Linked DNA regions of Homo sapiens: all the other regions are linked to region 3. Evidence: promoter capture Hi-C in 16 types of primary human blood cells and fetal thymus (Javierre and others, 2016). All regions are on one chromosome and are shown on one strand. Each heading gives the region's core, a stretch centred on a gene start or on the middle of the fragment in contact. The rest is flanking DNA. Distances are from core to core; before and after follow the strand shown. Region 1 overlaps MMP25 (matrix metallopeptidase 25). Region 2 has its middle 21 kb from the start of ZNF200. Region 3 holds the start of C16orf90 (chromosome 16 open reading frame 90).

The links. Contacts are between HindIII fragments. The CHiCAGO score rates a contact against its expected background, and 5 or more counts as called.
Region 1: a contact is called between a fragment that was not itself captured here and the fragment with the promoter of C16orf90 in region 3, in 1 of 17 cell types (naive CD8 T cells). The highest score is 5.3, in naive CD8 T cells.
Region 2: a contact is called between a fragment that was not itself captured here and the fragment with the promoter of C16orf90 in region 3, in 1 of 17 cell types (M2 macrophages). The highest score is 5.2, in M2 macrophages.

The regions. Positions count from the first base shown.
Region 1 is chr16:3,050,486-3,053,850 of GRCh38, reverse strand. MMP25 (matrix metallopeptidase 25) reads right to left here. Exons shown (of 10, transcript NM_022468.5): 4 at 3,305-3,365. It overlaps LOC124900372 (sialidase-like), which reads left to right. Exons shown (of 3, transcript XM_047435000.1): 3 at 1-497. The coding sequence ends at 44. MMP25-AS1 (MMP25 antisense RNA 1) reads left to right here. Exons shown (of 5, transcript NR_123723.1): 5 at 229-1,726. Among named protein-coding and RNA genes, the nearest start is that of MMP25, 5.6 kb to the right of the region's middle. The HindIII fragment of the contact is 5,966 bases long and covers 1-3,365 here.
Region 2 is chr16:3,212,791-3,216,123 of GRCh38, reverse strand. It overlaps the pseudogene OR1F2P. Among named protein-coding and RNA genes, the nearest start is that of ZNF200, 21 kb to the left of the region's middle. The HindIII fragment of the contact is 7,571 bases long and covers 1-3,333 here.
Region 3 is chr16:3,493,181-3,496,771 of GRCh38, reverse strand. C16orf90 (chromosome 16 open reading frame 90) reads left to right here and starts at 1,283. Exons shown (of 3, transcript NM_001080524.2): 1 at 1,283-1,396; 2 at 1,895-2,248; 3 at 2,785-3,288. The coding sequence starts at 1,351. The coding sequence ends at 2,933. It also overlaps a transcript of CLUAP1 not described here and the pseudogene RPL18P12. RefSeq lists a silencer at 3,515-3,591. The HindIII fragment of the contact is 6,628 bases long and covers 698-3,591 here.

The DNA of each region.
Region 1 (3,365 bases), core at 495-2,994, 440 kb after region 3:
AAAGGTCACTTTGTCCCTGGATGACCAAACACAGGCCAATGTAACTTACTGGGCTTGTTTTGCCCCAGCCACAGCTGACCACTTCCTCCTTCACTCTTGTTGTTGATCACCTTTGGGCTTAGTCTTTCTCCATCTCTGTTGAGTCCTTCTCCCCTGCCACCTACTCCTTCATGCTGGGGTTCTCTGTAGCTCTGTACCTGACAGTCACGTTCCACCCTTTCCTCCCAGAAGCTCGCCAACCCCCGTGGACTGCTGGCTCTCAAGGCGGCCGCTAGCCCAGCTCCGACAGCAGCTGACAATGCACAGTATGCGGCCCAGGGCAGGCCCTGTGCTGAGAGGCATGGGTGAATGGCTCATTTCATCGGCAAGCCCACGCCACCAGCAGGCGCCGTTCTCCTCGCATTTCTCAGGCGAGGAACCTGAGACAATGAGGTTAAGGAAGTTGTTCATTACAAGTGGAAGAACCCTGACTTACTTGAATTCAGCTTTGAAGCCCACATTCTCTTTTTCTGTGTGTGTGACAGGGTCTCACTTTGTCACCCAGGCCGCAGTGCAGTGGTGTGAACACAGCTCATTGCAGTCTCAACCTCCCTGACTCAAGCAATCCTCCTGCCTTAGCCTCCTGAGTAGCTGGGACTACAAGCATGTGCCACCACGCCCAGCCGAAGCCCATATGTGAATGTTGAGGCACACAGCCTCCCCAGCCTCTGCCTTACCAAGCCCTCCACAGGGCCTAGGCACCCTCCCTGGCTGCCCCCTTCCCCCGTCACTCAGGCTCCCCAGCAGCCAATGTAGTTAATATGGGGCTGCAAAGAGCTGGGCCTGGCCTCAGGCGGGACCGCCTCCCCGGCATTGCCATCCCTGCTGCAGAGCTCCCATGCGATCAGCCTCCTCTCCAGCTGAGACCACATCCTCACTCAGCTTCTAGGCTGTTCCTGCTCCCCATTCCCCTCAGCACATGGCCCCTGAGAAACTGCTTGCACAAGAATTTCCCTCTGGAGCCCCACCTCTGGGGAACCTGACCTCAGACAGAGGAGACCAAGCTCTAGGGCAGGATCCTCCACCTCCCTTGCCCCACCGGTGTGGCCAGCCCAGAGCGCTGCAGACTCCCGCCCAGACCTGCACTTGTGCCTGCCTTCTGCCAGCCTGCTCCTCCTCCTCCCACTCTCACACCTGCATTAACAGCACCAGGACGCCATCCTCCAAGGGCCCCAGCCTCATCTCCCCTGTCACCAGGATCCAGCCAGATCTCAATCCTTGCCCATCCTAACTGAACCTCCCTCAGATCCGTCCACTGCCCCCTTCCCCAGGACCACACTCCACCATCTCTTGCCTGGACCCTGCGAGAACTTCCTGCCTCCCTGCCTCTATCCTACCCCCTGCCCCCCGCTGAAGCTGATGATAGTTCCGGAATGCAAAACCCCTTAATGATTCCCCCATTGATCAAAGTCTTCCACATGCTTTCAAGGTCCTTGGTGATCCAGGACCTGCCGCCTTCTGCAGTCTCCCTACTGATGCCATAGTTTTGGCTTCTGGCCTCATATGTCCCGGGTCATTTCTCTGGTCACTGGCTCCTCTTACCCCTGACTCAGCTGGCTCACTGCTTTCCCATTGGATCTCAACCCTGTGTACCTGGGGAGAGCGGAACTCTGTATGTCTTGTCTTGTGCTAGTAGTCACTCAGTGTGTATGTGTGGATATTCATATATATATATATATATATTTGAGATGGAGTTTTGCTCTTGTTGCCCAGGCTGGAGTGCAGTGGCACGATCTCGGCTCACTGCAACCTCTGCCTCCAGGATTCAACTGATTCTCCTGCCTCAGCCTCTCCAGTAGCTGGGATTACAGGCTTGCACCACCACACCCGGCTAATTTTTTGTATTTTTAGTAGAGACGGGGTTTCAACATGTTGGTCAGGCTGGTCTCAAACTCCTGACCTCAGGTGATCCACCCACCTGTGCTTCCCGAAGTGCTAGGATTACAGATGAAAGCAATCACGCCCGGCCTATATTCATATATATATTGAGGGAACGAAGTCACCTCTTCTAGGAAGCCTCCCCTTGCCCAAGAGCTTTGGGCCAACATCTCTGAGCCCCTGCAGGCTTGAGGACTTCCTCTGCTGGGATTCTGTGGAGCTGTGTCACCGTGGGTGTTGTCATTGCCAGTCACTCTTCTGACTCAGCTGCCAGGTAAAGATTTGTTTTCGTCTCCGCAAGCCCCCAGCTCTGGCTTGGAGCTAGGCACCTGCTAGGCCTCTGTGATGGTTCATTGTGTGTGTCAGTTTGGCCCGGCTGTCGTGCCCAGCTGGTTGGTGAAACACCAGTCTAGATGCCATGGTGAAGGTCTTTGTAGATGCAATTAACATCTACAATCAGTTGACCTTAAGTCAAGTAGATCATGCTCCATAGTGTGGCTGGGGGTGGGGTGGGGGCAGAGCCAATCAGTTCAAGGCCTTGAGAGCTAAAGCTAAGGTTTCCTGGAGAGGAAGGAATTCTGCCTCCAGACTGTCACTGAAATCCTGAGTTGCCAGCCTGCCGTACAAATTTTGGACTTGCTATCCCCTACAATCCCGTGAGCCAATTCCTTAAAATAAATCTCTTTACACACACGCACACACACACCCCCCCCACACACATACACACACACACACATCCCACACACACGTGCACACACACACACATCCTGTTGGTTTTGTTTCTCTGGAGACCTCCCAGCTGATAAAGCCTCCATCAGTAAATATAATTTAAACCTAATTATTGGCCAGGAGTGGTGGCTCATGCTTATAATCCCAATGCTTTGAGAGACCAAGATGGGAGGATCACTTGAGCCCAGGAGTTCAAGACCAGCCCTGGTGACATAGTGAAGCCCCATCTCTACAAAAAGTTTTAAAACTAGCCAGGTGTGGTGGTGCACATCTGTGGTCCTGGCTACGTGGTGGCTGAGGAGGGAGGATCACTTGAGCCCAGGAGGTGAAGGCTGCAGTGAGCCGTGATCGTGCAACTGCACTCCAGCCTGAGCAAGATAATGAGACCCTGTTTCTACAAAAAGTAAAAAAAACAAACAAAAAAAATAGCCAGGTATGGTGGTGTGCACCAGTGATCCCAGCTACTCTGGAGTCTGAGGTGGGAGGATTGCTTGAGCCAGAAGTTCGTGGTTGCAGTTAGCTATGATTGCACCACTGCACTCTAGCCTGAGCAACAGAGCAAGACCTTGTTTCTTAAACAAAACAAAACACACAACAGAAAACTTATTCTTAAGACCAGACCTGGCAAGAGGATCTCTCATAAGAGAGGAGATTTTACCTTTTGACCCAAAAGTCCAGGTCTCCTCATCGTCAAAGTGAGTGTCCCCGGAGATGGGGTG
Region 2 (3,333 bases), core at 104-2,603, 280 kb after region 3:
GTTGTCTGCACAGAATGAGAGTCGAGCCATCAGCAGGGTGTGCAGCAGAGCATTCGAGTTGGCAACCACCCATGATCCAGTGACCAGCAGGGCACAGAGCTGATGGGTCATCTTTGCTGTGTAATGTAAGGGGCGGCACACGGCGACAAAGCGGTCATAGGCCATCACAGCCAGGAGGAAATTGTCCATGTCAGCAAGCTCACTGATAAAATACATCTGCATGAGACAGCCAGAGAAGGAGATGGTTTGAGTCCTGAGTATGTGATTGGCCAGCATCTTGGGGACGGTGGTGGAGAAGCAGTTGTCCACAAAGGACATGTTGCTGAGGAAGAAGTACATGGGGGTGTGCAGGCGGGAGTCTATGCTTATGGCCAGGATGATGAGCAGGTTCCCCAGGACAGTGGCCAGGTACATGCTGAGGAAGAACACAAAGAGGAGATGCTGCTGCTGGGGCTGCCTGGAGAGTCCCAAGAGGAGGAACTCGGAGACACTCACTGGTTTGTCCCTCTCATATGTCTGGACCCAGCTGCATAGAAGACAGTGAATTCAGAAACATACACATGGGTGGTTAAGATGTGATGAGGCTCCAGGAAGAACCACGTTTGCAAATCAATTCACAAACTTGCAAAAACAGGATGTGGTCTCCTCACCCATACGTCCAATTTCCAACACTCAGTTACGATGCTTTTCCTAGACGACTCACTGATTCTTATTTTGCATATTTAACGTTGAAAACACAGACAGGCTGGGCATGGTGGCTCATGCCTGTAATCCTAGAACTTTGGAAGGCCAAAGAGGGAAGATGGCTTGAGGCCAGGAGTTCAAGACCAGCCTGGACAACATACCAAGACCCCATCTCTATTAAAAAAGAAAAGAAAACAAAACACACAGACACGTACACATAGCCTGACTCTGAGAATGTGTGTGTCTCTGGTACATTCAGTTCCCCACCCAACTAGTTAGCAGCTCATAAAGAGACTGGAGGAATGACTGATGATTACTGGGTTAATCTCAAGTGACAACTGATGGATTCAGGACTCCTGTACTTCACTTCTCTGTACATTACTCATTACTTCCTGTATCTGGATGATGTAGCAAAGAAGATTCCTAAAAGAACTTCACATCTGAGCCAACACATACTTAATTGTTCACCTCTGCGACCTTTCCTGGAGAAGGTTGGTGCTGTCACTCTCAGTTGTTCCTCATTTCTACATAACTGGTCAATGCTTCTACTTACTGTGGGAGTTGGAATGTCTTGGAAACACAGGCGGGTCCTGAGTGTGTGAGGAGTAGGGGCTCATGGTCTTAGTCCTCTGTGTAAGTAAATGTTTGGGGCAATCACAGAGCAGGCATTTGTAGGAACCTCCTTTGGCCACTGGGACCAGATTCCCTGAGAGCCTCATTAGGGACAAGAAGAACATAATTGTCCCACCTAATTTTGGCCCCTTTGGACCAAACAACGACGACATTCAATATTATCTAACGTTTAGATAAAACTCTTGGACCAAAACTTGTAGATATTAGAAATGAAGCCATCCTGATACAGATAAATCGCAGACAAGATTCCTTGGAACCACAAACCTCCTCACCTTGTGATCTGCTCCTGTGCCCACAGGTGTGGAAATTCTGTCATGAAATCCTTTGCAGTATCACTTCCTTTGTTGAGATATGGGGCTCTTCCGTGTTTTCTGTGTAGCCCTTGCTTTCCTCTGCCTGGTCATCTTAAGACATTAGTGATGCTTCGTGTTTTCCATTTTACAGGAGGGAATGTTACGAGCACATTACTGAGATGGGCTTAATTCGTGAAAATGTTTGGGGTCAGGCACAGTGGCTCACGCCTGTAACCCAAAAGTTTGGGAAGCCAAGGTGGGCAGATCACCTAAGGTCAGGGGTTCGAGACCAGCCTGGCCATCATGGTGAAACCCAGTCTCTACTAAAAATACAAAAATTAGCCAGGCATGGTGGCATGTGCCTGTAGTCCTAGCTACTTGGGAGGGTGAGGCACAATAATTACTTGAACCCAGGAGGTGGATGTTGCAGTGAACCGAGATCGTGCCACTGCACTCCAGCCTGGGCAATAGAGCAAGACTCTGTCTCAAAAAAAAAAAAAAAAGGAAAAAGAAAATGTTTGAGATGAAGGGTAGTCTGATTGTAAGGGAGGTTTTCTCCAGGAGAATCCAGGATGCCGTGATTTATGAACTCTAGACCCCTAGGATGGACATCTTTGGGGATGTCCCTGCAACTCACATGGTTTGCCCTTTTCTTGGGATAGAGCTTCCTAATCTGCATAGGCACAATGTGGTGGAGCCCCAGGAGTCGTGTTTCTACCACCTCCCCTTCACCATAGCTGGTTGAACCAGAGTATTTGGAACCAGGATTGAGCAAAGCTATCACTACATGCTTGGCTACAATGTATAAATCCAATCACCTTCTCTCTGTCCCATTCTCTTTTTTTTTTTTTTTTTTTTTTTGAGATGGAGTTTCACTCTGTCATCAGGCTGGAGTTCAGTGGTTTGATCTCAACTCACTGCAACCTCCACCTCCCGGGTTCAAGAGATTCTCCTGCCTCAGCCTCCCGAGTAGCTGGGACTACAGGCACGTACCACCATGCCCAGCTAATTTTTGTATTTTTAGTAGAGACAGGGTTTCACATTGTTGGCCATAATGGTCTCGATCTCTTGACCTCAGCCTCCCAAAGTGGTGGGATTACAGGCGTGAACCACCCCGCCTGGCGCCTCTTTCTTTCTTTCTTTTTTTTTTTTTTTTGAGACGGAGTCTCGCTCTGTCGCCAGGCTGGAGTGCAGTGGCGCAATCTCGGCTCACTGCAACCTCCACCTCCCAGGTTCGAGTGATTTTCCTGCCTCAGCCTCCCGAGTAGCTGGGACTACAGGCACGCGCCACCACGCCCAGCTAATTTTTTGTATTTTTAGTAAAGACAGGGTTTCACCATTTTGCCCAGGATGGTCTTGATTTCTTGACCTCGTGACCCACCCACCTCGGCCTCTCAAAGTGCTGGGATTACAGGCGTGAGCCACCGCGCCCAGCCCTCTTTCTTCTCTTTCTTTTCTTTTCTTTTCTTTCTTTCTTTCTTTCTTTCTTTCTTTCTTTCTTTCTTTCTTTCTTTCTCTCTCTCTCTTTCTTTCTCTTTCTTTTCTTTCCTCTTTCTTTCTTTCTTTCTCTCTCTTTCTTTCTTTCTCTTTTCTTTCCTCTTTCTTTCCTTCTTTCTTTCTTTCTTTCTTATTTTTCTTTTTGGGGAGTATTTTTAAGATGAGATTAACATTTAAATCAATAGAACTTGAGTACACCAGATTAGCCTCCATAATGTGGGTGGGC
Region 3 (3,591 bases), core at 34-2,533:
TTCGTTTTTGTAGCCTCGGCTGGCCCGTAGGCCTCTGGCGCGCTCGAACTTCTGGTCCCTGGAGCGGAAATAGCGTTTGGTGTGGCTGTGTGGGGTTCCCAGGGCCTTGCCGAAATGCCGGTACACCTGTCGGCCCTTGCGAAGACCGGAGAGTAGGACGGGGCCGCCGTCCTTGAGGGAGTCCAGGGCCAGCTGATCGAAAGTCAGGATCTTGGCCCCCACCCTGAGGATGCCGCTGTGGGCCGGCTGGTCACGGGCAGCGCACACACCTTAAGTTTGGGCACCTCCTGAACCCTCGCGTCATCCGTTAAGCGTCCCCACAACCACGGCCGTTTTGTTTTCCCAGCCAGGAAGCTTCATCTTCCGGATCATCCGGGAAACGGACAGAGGTGGCCGGTTGGTGCGACTCATAAACAACCTCTTCAGCACAACCTGGTTGAATGTGGAGTTAGTTCGTCTGGACGGTAACCTGTACAGCTTGACCAACAAACAGCCTCAGTTAGATATCCTGGCTCTTGGGCTCTTTGCGCCGAACCTTTAGGTCCTTCTTGTGGCGGACGTCAGCTCCCATGATGGCGCTTCCTGCTTGGCCAGGTCCGGAAAGATGAATGTTTAACTTTTTTTTTTTTTTGAGACGGAGTCTCGCTCTGCAGCCCAGGCTGGAGTGCAGTGGCGCGATCTGGGCTCACTGCAAGCTTCGCCTCCCGGGTTCACGCCATTCTCCTGCCTCAGCCTCCTGAGTAACTGGGACTACAGGCTCCCGCCACGACGCCCGGCTAATTTTTTTGTATTTTTAGTAGAGACGGGGTTTCACCGTGTTAGCCAGGATGGTCTCGATCTCCTGACCTCATGATCCGCCCACCCCGGCCTCCCACAGACCTCAACTGATCAGCCTGCCTCGGCCTCCCACAGTGCTGGGATTACAGGCATGAGCCACCGCCCCCAGCCCCTTTTCAGCATTTTCAAAGTACCGACCTAGGTCTTCCTAGGTCTGTACTCCTGAACCCTCATTTCCCACCCCAGATGAGGAAGCTGGCCCCAAGAGATCACCTGAGAGAAGGACTCTCCAGTTTGCCAGAGCTGTCTGTTTTATGTGGCCTGACCCCAGCCAGAGGGACCAGGGACTTCCCCCAGGGTTCTGGCCCCTTCCCATGCCTTTCTTTCACCCTGCCCTTGCCTTGGGCACTGTCCTCTCCCAAACTAGGGGTCCAGGAAGGCTGGGAGTCTTCCCCGTGATGTCATAAGAACCAGTTGCCAGGGGAGACCTGCCAATGTACCCCCTAGGCAGGGGAGAGCAGGGCCCTGCTGCACCCAAGTCCTGGTTGCTCCTCCCCACCACACTGGCCCTCCATGGAAGCCTTGGTCTGTGCATTTTCTGAGCTGCACATAAGAGAAGGTGCCGGGCTGTGGGGAGGAGTGGCAGGAAGAGAGATAGGCTTCTGTCCCCACCTGGGCCCAAAGCCGAGGGGTGGCCTCAGGGACATGTATGCTTGGGAGAGGGGAATGGCCACTGGGCCAGGCCATGAGCCCCTGGGCTGGCCACTTTCTCTCAAACCCACTGTGCAATTTCTCTGTGGGGACCAGAATACTCTTCCTAGGGTAGCGGGCAGAACAGGGTAGTAGAAAGGACTTGAGGTCCTGAAAGCACTCTTAGTACCAAGGCCCGAGGCTTCCCAGGCCTCCCTGTTGGTTGGGAGTGGGAAGAGGAGTCGTGTCTTGGGCATGGGCAGGGGAGGCAGTGGACTGAGACTATTTGACACACAGGTAAACTGAGGCCAGGTTGGCTGGGGGTGTAGCCCATCATGTGAGCTGGTCTCAGAGGTATGTGACTGCACCCTCCCCTCATGGCTGCTGTGGGGGGCTGGCCACCACCCTCCCGCTGTCTCCTCTGCAGATGCAGTGAGCCAGGCCCAAGGACGCCCCGGCCACCCTGACGCACCCCCCAACATCTACGAGGGGGGCCTGGGGTCCCCGCAGCCGCAGTGCCCCAGTGCCCAGGGAAGCAAGCCCAAGAACTTCCGGCTGCGCCACCTCCGGGGCCTGGGCCTCTACCTGGAGAGCCACCCGCCACCCACTGGCCAGTGTGAGAGCCACTGGCTGGGCCGGCTTATGGCTGGGGGCTGCCTGCCACAGCCTGAGGGCACAGCCTGGGCCCTGGACCTGCCACAGGGGACTCTGGGCCCACGTAACAGCCTCTGTTCAGCCCTTCTGGAAGCCCGATTGCCCAGGGACAGCCTGGGAAGCAGTGGTGAGCTCTGTCAAGGCAGGACTGGGCACGGGGGAAGACCCTAGGGGATGGTTGGGCTGGGGCCTCAGGCGGGCCCTTCTCCACTCCCAAGCCTCCACAGTGGCACCATGCCCCAGAAGGCCAAGATCTTGATGAATCTGTCCCCATCTCTGCATCACGCACAGCTAAGCGGGGTCTGGAGAATCCACCAGGGACAAAGCGGTGCGAGAAAAAGGGAGGATCTGGGAGGGAGGGCTGGGTGACTGCCCCAGCTCCACACTCGGTGAGGGGCCTTGGAATCTGTCTCCCTTGCTGGGCCTCAGTTTTCTCACTTGTAAAATGAGGGTTCAGGTTAGATGAGGGTCCTTCCAGCTTGAACCATTCTGTTCCCTCAACCTCCTCCCTCCCCTGGGGATTCTGTTAAGGAGGAAGCATTGCCCTCCTCCCTTCTGTTTTCAAGAATATCGGATTCTGGAAACCCCAGGGTGGGCTGCCAGCCTCCCCCCCAGCCTCCCCTTGGGTCCCTCAAGTGACTCCTTTCTCTCCTCTTTCCTCAGCTTCCAGTTCCAGCATGGACCCAGACAAGGGTGCCCTCCCCCAGCCTAGTCCTTCTAGGCTCAGGCCCAAGAGGTCCTGGGGGACCTGGGAAGAGGCCATGTGTCCCTTGTGCAAGAGAACCCGCTCTGGGGCCCTGGAGAGGCCATAGGGATCCCGAGTGCCAGGACTGGGTACAGGAGGGGCAGGATGGCCGAGGAGGCAGCCTGAGCAGGAGGGGCTCGGCCCCCGGCAGTGGCCCTGCCACATGGGGTGGCCCAGGCAGCGGCCCAGCGCCCAGGCCTGGGCCTCGGGAGAATGTGATGGGGAGAGGGAGGAGGAGGAGGTTCCGAGGGAGGGGCAGAAGCAATAGAAGCATGGCCGTGCCCTTGCAGCCTGCTTAGACTCCAGTCAGCCACTTGTACCTGGGAGGCCGGGCTGAGTGCAGAATCAGGCCCCCCCGCCACCGCCTCCCTGAGAGGCCGGGGAGCCCACAGCTCTGATCTCAATAAAAGCCAAGGCCTGCACGTTCTTGTCCATCTGCCTGTCTGTCATCAGGCCAGTTTGGTGAGAAAAACAGTCCTGTGTCTCTCCAGGGATGGGTCTGCCGCGCCCCCACTCTTAGTTGCCAGGGCATGAGAGGCGTGAGCTAGGGCAAGGGCCTGTGGGAACACCATACTTGTCTGTGAGAGCTTCCTGGATGAGACACTGCTGAGCTTGGCTCCATAGGGTGGGTAGGGGCTCAACAGCCCACCTTTTCAGCCACCATGCCTGGCTAATTTTCTTTTCTTTTTTTTTTTGAGATGCAGTCTAGAACTGTCTAGAGGCCA